2 separate regions of the Homo sapiens genome follow, and region 1 is linked to region 2. Evidence: promoter capture Hi-C in 16 types of primary human blood cells and fetal thymus (Javierre and others, 2016). All regions are on one chromosome and are shown on one strand. The core of a region is centred on a gene start or on the middle of the fragment in contact, and the rest is flanking DNA. Distances in the headings are between cores, read along the strand shown.

Evidence for each region. Contacts are between HindIII fragments. The CHiCAGO score rates a contact against its expected background, and 5 or more counts as called.
Region 1: a contact is called between a fragment that was not itself captured here and the fragment with the promoter of RPF2 in region 2, in 1 of 17 cell types (non-activated CD4 T cells). The highest score is 5.8, in non-activated CD4 T cells.

Annotation. Positions count from the first base shown.
Region 1 is chr6:112,064,616-112,069,909 of GRCh38, reverse strand. CCN6 (cellular communication network factor 6) reads right to left here. Exons shown (of 5, transcript NM_198239.2): 3 at 4,913-5,155; 4 at 1,512-1,705; 5 at 224-571. The coding sequence ends at 290. Among named protein-coding and RNA genes, the nearest start is that of CCN6, 13 kb to the right of the region's middle. The HindIII fragment of the contact is 918 bases long and covers 2,014-2,931 here.
Region 2 is chr6:110,979,071-110,984,356 of GRCh38, reverse strand. It overlaps RPF2 (ribosome production factor 2 homolog), which reads right to left and starts at 2,319. Exons shown (of 10, transcript NM_032194.3): 1 at 2,228-2,319. The coding sequence starts at 2,250. The HindIII fragment of the contact is 9,963 bases long and covers 1,870-5,286 here.

The DNA of each region.
Region 1 (5,294 bases), core at 1,223-3,722, 1.1 Mb before region 2:
CTTGTAAATTGCATAATTTTTTCATATACAAAATGCTTAGATGGTAACAAATGTCTGTGTATTATATAATTATAGGATATATTTTAGAAATTAGTTCAATTTTTAAGTTGTTCAAATTTTATGTATATTTTTAAGATAACTTTTTAAAAGTTTCTAATGCCTTAAATGTAGTGATCTGAGAATAGGCATTCATACTGTTTTAAACAAAGTAGATTTGCCACCATTTTATACTCACTAATTTTTTTATTATATGACAGGATTGACTAACTTTTCCCCCATTTGCTTGGTTTTACAGAATCTTGAGCTCAGAAAATATATCTCCAGGTTCTCTGCAGTTTCTCTGACACACACAAGATGTAATCCACAGCATCTTCCATTTAAATGACCCCTCATTTGGGCAATCAAATTGAATAGTAATCATTTTAGACTTATTAGGGATACAGCATCTCTTATCCAAGCATATTCCACAAAAAGTGGGTTTGTAACTCTGAGTACTTGAGCATCCAGAAAAGACAAATTTTTCAGCTTTGGAGAGTTGGAAAGTAGGTTGGCATGTTTTTCCTTTGGGAATCTGAAAAGATAGATAAAATGAAGTCATTCTTTAAATTTTATTACAATAGTTTTGAAAACATGTAGAATAGTTTATAGTACAAATCTGAGTATTTGGAGGCATTAATAAAAGTTGCTATGTAGTGATTTCCAGCACTCTCTTTACCCTTAAGATCCCCTTCTTATCAGAGGTCTGTCCTCTCTATTCTTCATCATATTATAGCACGTACTCCTCAATGTTTTTTGCTATCTATTCTTGACTCAATTTTACAATAAATAGAAATTTCTGTTTTGTTTAATATCAAGAGCCATGTCTTATTAAATATTTATCTAAGACTTAGCAAATTCCATAACACAGCCCAGACAGTTTTCAGTGGATGCATAGATGAATAATTATCCTAATCTTTCTTTAAAACTGAATTGTCAACTTGCTAATATGATAGAGAATAACTTTGGGGTAGAAGGATTGTGTAGCATTTCTAAAAATTACCCTTTTTGAGACAGACTTACTGCCTCATTCAAGAAGCAGGACCAGCTCTAGTTATACCAAACAATCTTAGGGTAAATATTTTATCATAGTGTTTTAGCAAGTTTACTATGTAAGCATAGAGCATTTTGGAAATGGTGTGGCTTCCTTCCAAGTTAGTGATATATAACTAAGATCAGGACTTCTCTACTCTGATGTTCATAATATCTGTTTTCATAATTATAGTGTAGCAACCAAAATCTTTTATTCATTAACATAGAAAAAAGAAGTTAGAATCTGCTCTGGTTGGTAAAATTTTCCCCACAACATGCAGTTAATACCTGTTTTCCTCTGAAATAGTTTGACTTTAAGCATTATAATGAGATGCTTTTATTTTTCTAAGAACTAAACACCATCCCACCCTCCAAAACACACACATGCTTACTTTTCAGGAATCTCTTAATATTGAATTAAGTTAAATATATTTAAACTTTACCTTTATTGTCTTTAATATATTGCTGTCGCAAGGCTGAATGTAACACAGTCTTTTCTCTTTTCTCATTTCACAGTTGCTGTTTTCATTGGTCACCCTGTTAGATATTCCCATCCCACATGTTCTGGAGCAGGGAGTCCATTTTGTTGCTTGCACAAGACATTTTTTTTTCCAAATAAGTGGGAGATTTCTATAAGCTAAAACAAAGGGAGAAAAGTACATATGTATACATATAAATGTACTTGTATAAATAGATAATTTTTAATCATGTTTAATGTTTAAGAAATCTGAGTATTTTTGTATAATATAACTCAGAATAAAAGAAGCCGATGGTCTAATTTATCACTCTATCTCCCTCTTTCCCAACCCCAAAATTAACTTTCAATCAAGTATTACAGTCCAGTCTCTTAGGAGGAATAAAAATACTTTATCTTTGAAAAACTGAGAAGATTTACTCATTTGCATTTTTCTGCTTTGCCTGTCCTCTGAATACTAAACCTAAGCTTATGTTCCTGTTGAGTTGTCTTTTCCCTTGTTCTTGCCTCATCATTTCTAACAGACATTGAAATAAAAATTAGGGAATTTGATCAGAACAGTGTGATCTTAATGTTAACTTTCATAATATGTTAAAATCTAAAATACAAAAATTATATTTGAGAATGAGACTATCAGTGAGACCAGATTTCTTCCATTTGTTTTAATCTAGTCTTTTAGAAAACTGTCTAATTAATACTACACTGAACTAAACTAATCATTTATATAGAAAGTCATTGCAAGCGTATAATTTCATTCATTCAACTTAATTGTCACACTCCCTATGTTCTTAGGCCCAAAGTACTCTCCAATTGGCTAAGATTTCGAATTACATATGAAAAAACAGAATGGATGGATCAATAGATGGGTCAGTGAGTGAGTAGATAGAGCCCTTCCAATGTGCTGCTAAGGAGAAATAGGAGGGGAAGAGAGAATATAAGAGGGTCTAATAATGCTCCCATTTCCATGTAAGGTCACTGGGAGCTTCTTCTTATAAATGAATCAGGCCCTTGGCTCATTTTAAGCAAACTACATATTGACTTACTGTCTCAAGGCATTTCCTTAAGGTTAATGTGCATCTTGAAATGGATGCTTTGGGAGTATGGTTGTGATTTGAGTCTGCACAGCAAAATTCTGGCTATATTACTTCAAAAAAATCAACTTAAAACTCGAAAAACACCCAGAAAAAAAAAAAGCCTTCTTCATAGGAAATAGTCTCTTTAAAGTATGTGCTCTATTTTAATTGATACTGTGACACTGCTTTCAGTGTTATGACAGTAGAGTCTCTTGCAATTGCACATAGAACTGAGGAGAGGAAGCAGAAACGTGAAGATACCTGGAAGGTAGACAACAGTTTAAAGACCTCAATGCAGGAAGCAGATTAGAAGCTTGGCACACATCTGCAATAAATAAAGGCAGGTTAGATTACCGTGTTACCAGTAATCCCACTTGTTAAACCGACAGCTGTAGTTCAGGAATTTACCATTCATTAAAAAGCAAGAAAACTAGAAGAGATTTTTTAAACAAAGCTTAGTGTTTGGTGAGCATTGAAAAAAGCATGAGGGCATTGAAAAAAGCATGAGGGCATTATGTCATTGCGTGCTTCATACTGACCTAGCAAAAGCTAGATTCCAACCATAGACTATAAATTACTGTCACAAATATATCTAAAAGTATGTGTTTTTGTCATTATGGTTAATTTTAAAAGCCAAATTCCTGTGTGGGCCATAAATATAATTTCACAGTTAAGCAAAGAAGAGACATTAGACTGAACGTATACTTCATTTGAAACACACCTAGGTCTAAATCATAAATACCAGAGAACACTTCAGGAGATTTTCTTGTTTTACCTGACAAAACACTAACTACTAAGACTGACTATCTGATGCCTCTCCCAACCAAGGTCAAAGTGAATCCACTGAACTGCTCTAACTTCTAAAATGAGACCAACTTGAACTTGATCCAAAGGGCTTCACTTGTGGAAAACTGCTCTAAGGTAGTCTTCCCAGGGAAGTTTATGTGTGGGTTCTAAGAGCCTTATACTGAATGACTAAAATCCAATGCAGAAAACCAACTGTTCTGTACATTTTGAAAAAAAAAAATAAGGACATGGCTTATAATTTCAGAGATTTCAGAGCATTAACAGTGTCATGCTGTCAACTGAACATGTATAGTAAATGCAAATTCACAACAACCTAGTAAATTTTTTTTCTAATTTACTGACAAAACTGGAGTTGCTGAGGATGTTCCTTTCATAGAGTTAGTTCTTAAATATCTAAACTCATTTCTCTGCTTATAGTTGCCTTTATTAAATATCCACTTAATAAAAGTGAACTCATGAGTTGTTAACATATTCAAGTATTCTGCATTTCCATGGCACCTCTCACTAAGCTCTAAACTTTAAGAAAAAGGCATTCTTGATTTCTGGATGAGAACACAGAGATGTGAACAAGAACCAGACTTCGATGTTGCCCCTTTTGAGTCCCTCCTCCTCTATACTTTATTTGCTGGTGGTTCTGAAACTCCTGTTCCCAAAATATGCTGATGCTTAAATAAAATGCTAACTTAGAGCAGACCAGAATACAAGGTTTATAAGTATACTTAAGCTGTTTGAAATGGCCAGATACACAAGATGAGTAATGAAGGATCACACTTCATTTTTCTGAGAACATAGATACATGGGTAACCTACTTAAAAATGCCTGTGTGTGTGCATGTGTGTGTTTGTGTGTGTGTGTGTGTGCGTGCGTGTGTGTGTGCGTGTGTGTTTGTGTGTGTGTGCGTGTGTGTGTTTGTGTGTGTGTGTTTACAGAGAGATTAACAATTGAGCTTCAATTTCAGAGTGAGGGAAAGGACTTCCTACGAGATTTCTATTTTTAGAAATAATATTTACAAGTTCAAAATATGTGTCAGTTCTTAAATATTTTTCAGCAGTAGCCTCCCATTTCTGCCTGTATCACATAGAAATGTTACCTTTTAAAATTTGGGGAAGTGAATGGTCAAACTTCTTGCCCATAATAGAACAATAAAAATAAGTTGTTCTAGGGTACATGTGAACAATATTTGGTCAATTTTCCTGAGAAGAGGTTAGAAATAAGCAGAGGTGTAAGATTTTAGTAGAGCTTCCTGACCTAGTAGATCTTTTAAAAATGTTTTTAAATGTTTTACCAGAAAATTCTAAAACATTATAAAATTTCCTTTGCAGATATTTATCCCTGTCTGAGGCAAAGATTAAGTAAAATGATACACTCAAACTATATCTCACTCTGACCACCAATCAACAAGTACTTACTGAGTACCTATGATACGTAAAAGGAACATGAAGGAATACCACCAAGGTCATACGTGAAAAATAGCTCTACTTCTGAGCACCTGGCATTGTTTTGTAGCTTGTTGAAAGCTGCTGTAGTAATGGTTCCAGGCTACAGTTTGACTGATCAGACTTCTTTCCACCTTTAGCTCCAGAGCAGTGACTGCCAGCCAGCTTTGGTATGAACAGAGGTGTGCATCCAATGGCCCCACTCACACAGAGGCAGCTGAACAAGGGGTTGGGCTGAAACACTTGGCCATTATGATAATGTACCTGGTTGAACTCGCACCCAACAGCTACAAGGTCTGAAAAGAGAAAAGAGCAAAATTGCCAAAGAAGCCATGATCTGTGATAGTCTAGACCTCCAATTATAAACCTAAGAAGAAACGGATCATCTCCTGTATGAAGTATAGCTCTCAACCTCTTAGGTTCCATTTGGAACCT
Region 2 (5,286 bases), core at 1,070-3,569:
TACTCTTCTTTTTTCTTCAAACTTTAAGTAGTCAAACTGTATCCTGTACCCTAATACAAAGAATTGAGCATCAACTGCTGATCAACCTGTGGACATTTACTAAACATAAGACTAACGACTGCTTATTTTTCTTTTAGGTTTAAGACCACAATGCCTGCCAGGAAGTATACACTGTTGCACTCCAACATCATTGCTGAGAATGCCAGTATTATTGCCAACAATGGGGAATAATAAGGCTGATGTTTACATGGAGTCACTCTATTAAGGCTTAATCTTCACCACAATCCTGAGAGTTACAATTCTTATTTATTTATTTATTTATTTTTTTGAGACAGAGTCTCGCTCTGTCGCCCAGGCTGGAGTGCAGTGGTGCGATCTCGGCTCACTGCAAGCTCCGTCTCCCAGGTTCACGCCATTCTCCTGCCTCAGCCTCCCGAGTAGCTGGGACTACAGGCGCCCGCCACGACGCCCGGCTAATTTTTTGTATTTTTAGTACAGACGAGGTTTCACCGTGTTAGCCAGGATGGTCTCGATCTCCTGACCTCGTGACCCACCCCCCCGCCTCAGCCTCCCAAAGTGCTGGGATTACAGGCGTGAGCCTCCACGCGCGAGTTACAATTCTTATCTTCACTTTACAGATGAGGCAATTGAACAGACAGGTAATGTGCCCAAGATCACACAGCAAGTAAACAGGCCAATTTTTAAAATGAGCTAGGGCTGGGAGGTGGCCCACAGCCTGTAATAAAAACACTCTAGGAGGCCAAGGTGGATGGATCACTGAGCCCAGAAGTTCGAGACCAGCCTGGGCAACAATGCAAAACCCTGTCTCTACAAAAAATACAAAAATTAGCTGTGGTGGTGTGCGCCTATAGTCCCAGCTACTCAGCAGGCTGAGGTAGGAGGACTGCTTGATCCCAGGGAGGTCGAGGCTGCAGTGAGCTGTGATGGGGCTACTGCACTCCAGCCTGGGTGACAGAGTGATACCCTGTCTCAAAAAAAAACAAATTTTTTAAAGCTAGATTTAAAAATTCGTCTAGACCAATTACCCTGTAAAATATGAAGGGAAAATAAATTCATTATTCTGACTTTATGATGTGACAGTAGGAGTGGCATGTTTTTACACACTTCTGTTCAAAAGAGGGGCTTCACCTCTGCTTCCTCTACAATGAGCACCTTGCTTTTCAGACAGTTCTCTGCCATCTACTGAAAGAATTCTTCCTCCCAAATAATTATGACCCTCCCTCGTCCAGTCCCATGGACACTTTGGGAAGAAAAAGAGACCATACATACACTTAAGTTTCCCATGTAGATTTTTAAAATACTCCTCCAGATATAATGTCACATATAAAGCTTCTGATCATTTACTGGTTGATAAAGATACAAATTATTCTATCTTTTGTATCTCATTAAACAGCAACAAATGCAAATAGCAATTAACATGTTTTATTAGCTGCCTGCTCCCAATTAACGTGTGAACTAGTCCCAATACCTAGTAAACTACTCTTTGTAGTCCAAACAGCTAGAGGCATAGCAGGTGTGCAAAATCTCTGAATGACTAAAACTGTCGTTTTGGATACATGTTAACTTAGGTAAATAGCAAGAAAATCACAGCAAGTAACAGCAGGGCTGTTTAGCCCAAATATTCTTGAACAAATTTAAAACAGGTATCATTCAAGGATAACTCAGAGGAGTGTACAAAGTTGGAAGGAAAAGAAAAAACTAATGAACATTTCTACGTGCTGCAGCAAAGGCTCTACATACATTCTCGAAACTAACCCTCACAGCTCTATGAAGTATGACTATGGTGAGCGCTATTTTACAGAATAAGCTAAGATTTAGAGATATTTAATGACCCAAAGTCACAAAGCTTTAAGTGGACGCGCCAGACTGTCACTCAGATCTGTCGGATTCCGAGGGCTGTGCTCCTAACCCCACTATACCATCTGTCTCATACTTCGGAAGTCAGACGTTTTTCAACTGGCTAGGATAAAAGCGGCCAACGCTTCAATCCCACATCCCTCCCATCCCACGGCTCCCACTTGAGAGCTTCCCCACTGTCTCCTGGCAAGCAGCTCGCGCTGAGGAGGACCCGGGCTGGTGATCGATCGGCCCCCACCCAGGTAATTAGAGGGGTAACCAGGAAGAGTGAGAGGCCGAGACAGTACCACCCTCATCACGGGACCCTTTCACCCCAACGCTCCCCGGGGCTGAGACCCAGCGCACTTACACTACTCGATCCAGAGTGTCCATCGCTACCGCTACCTGCAACTCTTAACCAGGGGGCATGCACGTGCCCTCGGCGATTACGTGCGCCGGAACAGGCGGAACCGGAAGCTGCGCGTAACGCCACTTCCGGGGACGGCCTCGTAGAGGGCGTCTAGAGGCGCTGGCGGCCATCTTGATTGGAATCGCGCCCTGTTGTCTTGGTTACGGATTTTTGCCCCGGCTCTTTCCTGGAGTTACAGGTGCGAGGTAATACTTTTAAGTAACACTGGCCGGGCGTGGTGGCTCACGCCTGTAATCCCAGGATTTTGGGAGGCCCAGGCGGGCGGATTACCTGATAACAGGAGTTCGAGACCAGCCTGGCCAACATGGCGAAACCCCGTCTCTACTAAAAATACAAAAATTAGCCGGGCGTGGTGGCGGGCGCCTCTAACCCCAGCTACTCGGGAGGCTGAGGCAGGGAGAACTGCTTGAACCCGGGAGGCGGAGGTTGCAGTGAGCGGAGATCGCGCCACTGCACTCCAGCCTGGGTGACAGAGCGAGACTTCGTCTCAAAAATAAAATAAAAATAAAATAAAATAACATAGACCCTCGCAGTTTGATGTACGCGCTAGTGTGCATACCTGGAGTCAGGTATTCAGAAACCAGATTTTATTCTTCAAGGAATCCCAGGATGCTAGAAAGGTTGATTGATTGCACGGTAGGTACTCACATAAGCACTAAAAACATTGATGTGAAAGGGGCACTATTGACAACTATGCGATCTGTGTGACAGAATTTATGACTACCACAGTTGCCTAGTACATAAAAGATGCGCAGAAAATGTACTGCTGTTCGTGATTTTTCCCCAGTTTTTAAGTTACCATATACTTCACATACCATAAAATGTACCCCTTTACAGTGTACAATTCAGTGATTTTTGGTGTATTCACAAAGATGTGCAAATATCACCACTAATTCCAGAATATTTAATCACCTCAAAAAGAACCCCCCTGACACACACACCCAGTAGCAGTCCATGCCCCACTTCCCCCTCCTGCCAGCCCTTGGCAACCAATAATCTACTTTATGTTCAATGGATTTGCCTATTCTGAACATATATAAATGGTTTCGTGCAACGTATGGCCTTTTGTGTTTGACTTCTTTCACTATCTTTTTGAGGTTCATACATGTAGCGTGGATCAGTACTTCCATTTTGTTAGGACTGAATAATATTCCTTTGTATGGATATACCACATTTTGTTTATCCATTTATCAACCTAGGTACTTTTTTTATTTTAGACATAGTCTTGCTCTGTCGCCAGGGCTGAAGTGCAGTGGTGCGATCTTGGCTTACTGCGCCGTCCACCTCCCGGGTTCAAGCAGTTCTGCCTCAGCCTCCCAAGTAGCTGGGATTACATGCACGCACCACCACACCTTGCTAACTTTTGTATTTTTTAGTAGAGACAGGGTTTCACCATGTTGGCCAGGCTGGTCTTGAACTTCTGAGCTCAGGTAATCCACCCGCCTTGGCCTCTCAAAGTGCTAGGAATACAGGCGTGAGCTACTGTACCCGGCAGCTTATGTACATTTGAATGGTTCCTATTTTTTGGCTATTATGGATTATGCTGCTTTGTGTTTTTTTGTTTTGTTTTGCTTTGCTTTGTTTTGTTTCTGAGACAGAGTCTCACTCTGTCACACAGGCTGGAGTGCAGTGATGCAATCTCAGGTTACTGCAACCTCCATCTCCTGGGTTCAAGTGATTCTAGTGCTTCAGCCTCTCGAGTAGCTGGGACCACAAGCGCGTGCCACCACACCCAGCTGCTTTGAATATTAGTGTACAAATTTTTGTGTGGACATACATTTTCAATTCTCTAGGAGAAAAATTGCTGGGTCATATGCTGACTCTTAAGTGTAACATTTTGAGGCACTGGTAAACTGTTTTCCAAAGCACCTGCACCACTTAAATTCCCATGAGCAATGTAAGAGAGTTTGGTATTAGTTTCCTATTTCTGTTGTAACAAATTATCACACATTTATTATTTTATACTTCAGGAAGTCAGAAGTCTGAAATCAGTTTTGCAGGTCTAAAATGTAGGCCGGAAGCAGTGGCTCACACCTGTACCCAGCACTTTGGAAGGCTGAGGTGGGCGGATCATGAGGTCAGGAGATCAAGACCATCCTGGCTAACACCATGAAACCCGATCTCTACTAAAAATACAAAAAATCAGCCAGGCGTGGTGGCACGCCTCTAGTCCCAGCTACTTGGGAAGCTGGGGCAAGAGAATCACTGGAACCTGGGAGGTGGAGGTTGCGGTAAGCTGAGATCGCACCACTGCACTCCAGCCTGGGCAACAGAGTAAGACTCCGTCTCTTAAGTAAATAAATAAATAAATTAAATAAATAAATAAATAAAATGAAGAAGTCAGTAGGACTACATTCCACCTGGAGGCTTCAGGGGAGAATCGGTTTCTTGGCTTTTTCCAGCTTCTGTAGACTGTCTGCATACTTTGGCATTTCTCCATCTTCAAAGATCATCAGTTGAACTTCTTCCATTGTCACATCTTTTTCTCTGATGCTCTGACACTCCTAACTCCCTCTTAATAAAACCCTTGTGATTACATGGGCATCACCTGGATAATCCATGATAATCTCAAGATCCTTAATCGTATAGCAAATTCCTTCTGGGCATATAAAGTAACATATTCACAGATACCTGGGGGTTCTCAACATCTTTGGGCTGGGAGTTGAAGGAAGCATTGTTCTATCTACCAAAGGTTCCAATTTCTCCACTCCTCACCAAAACTTAGCATTGTCCATCTGTTTTATTAAGCCATCCTAACAGATATGAGTGGTATCTCATTGTGATTTTCATTTCCTTGATGGCAAGGCAAATGATGGTGAGCATGTTTTCATGTGCTGATTGATTACCCATTTTTATATCTTCTTTGGAAAAATGCCTATCCAAATCCTTTGCCCGGTTTTTAAATTGGGTTGTCCTTTTATTGTTGAGTTCTAATATTTTCTCATGTATTCCAGATATAAGTCCCTTACCTGATACATAATTTGCAAATATTTATCCCA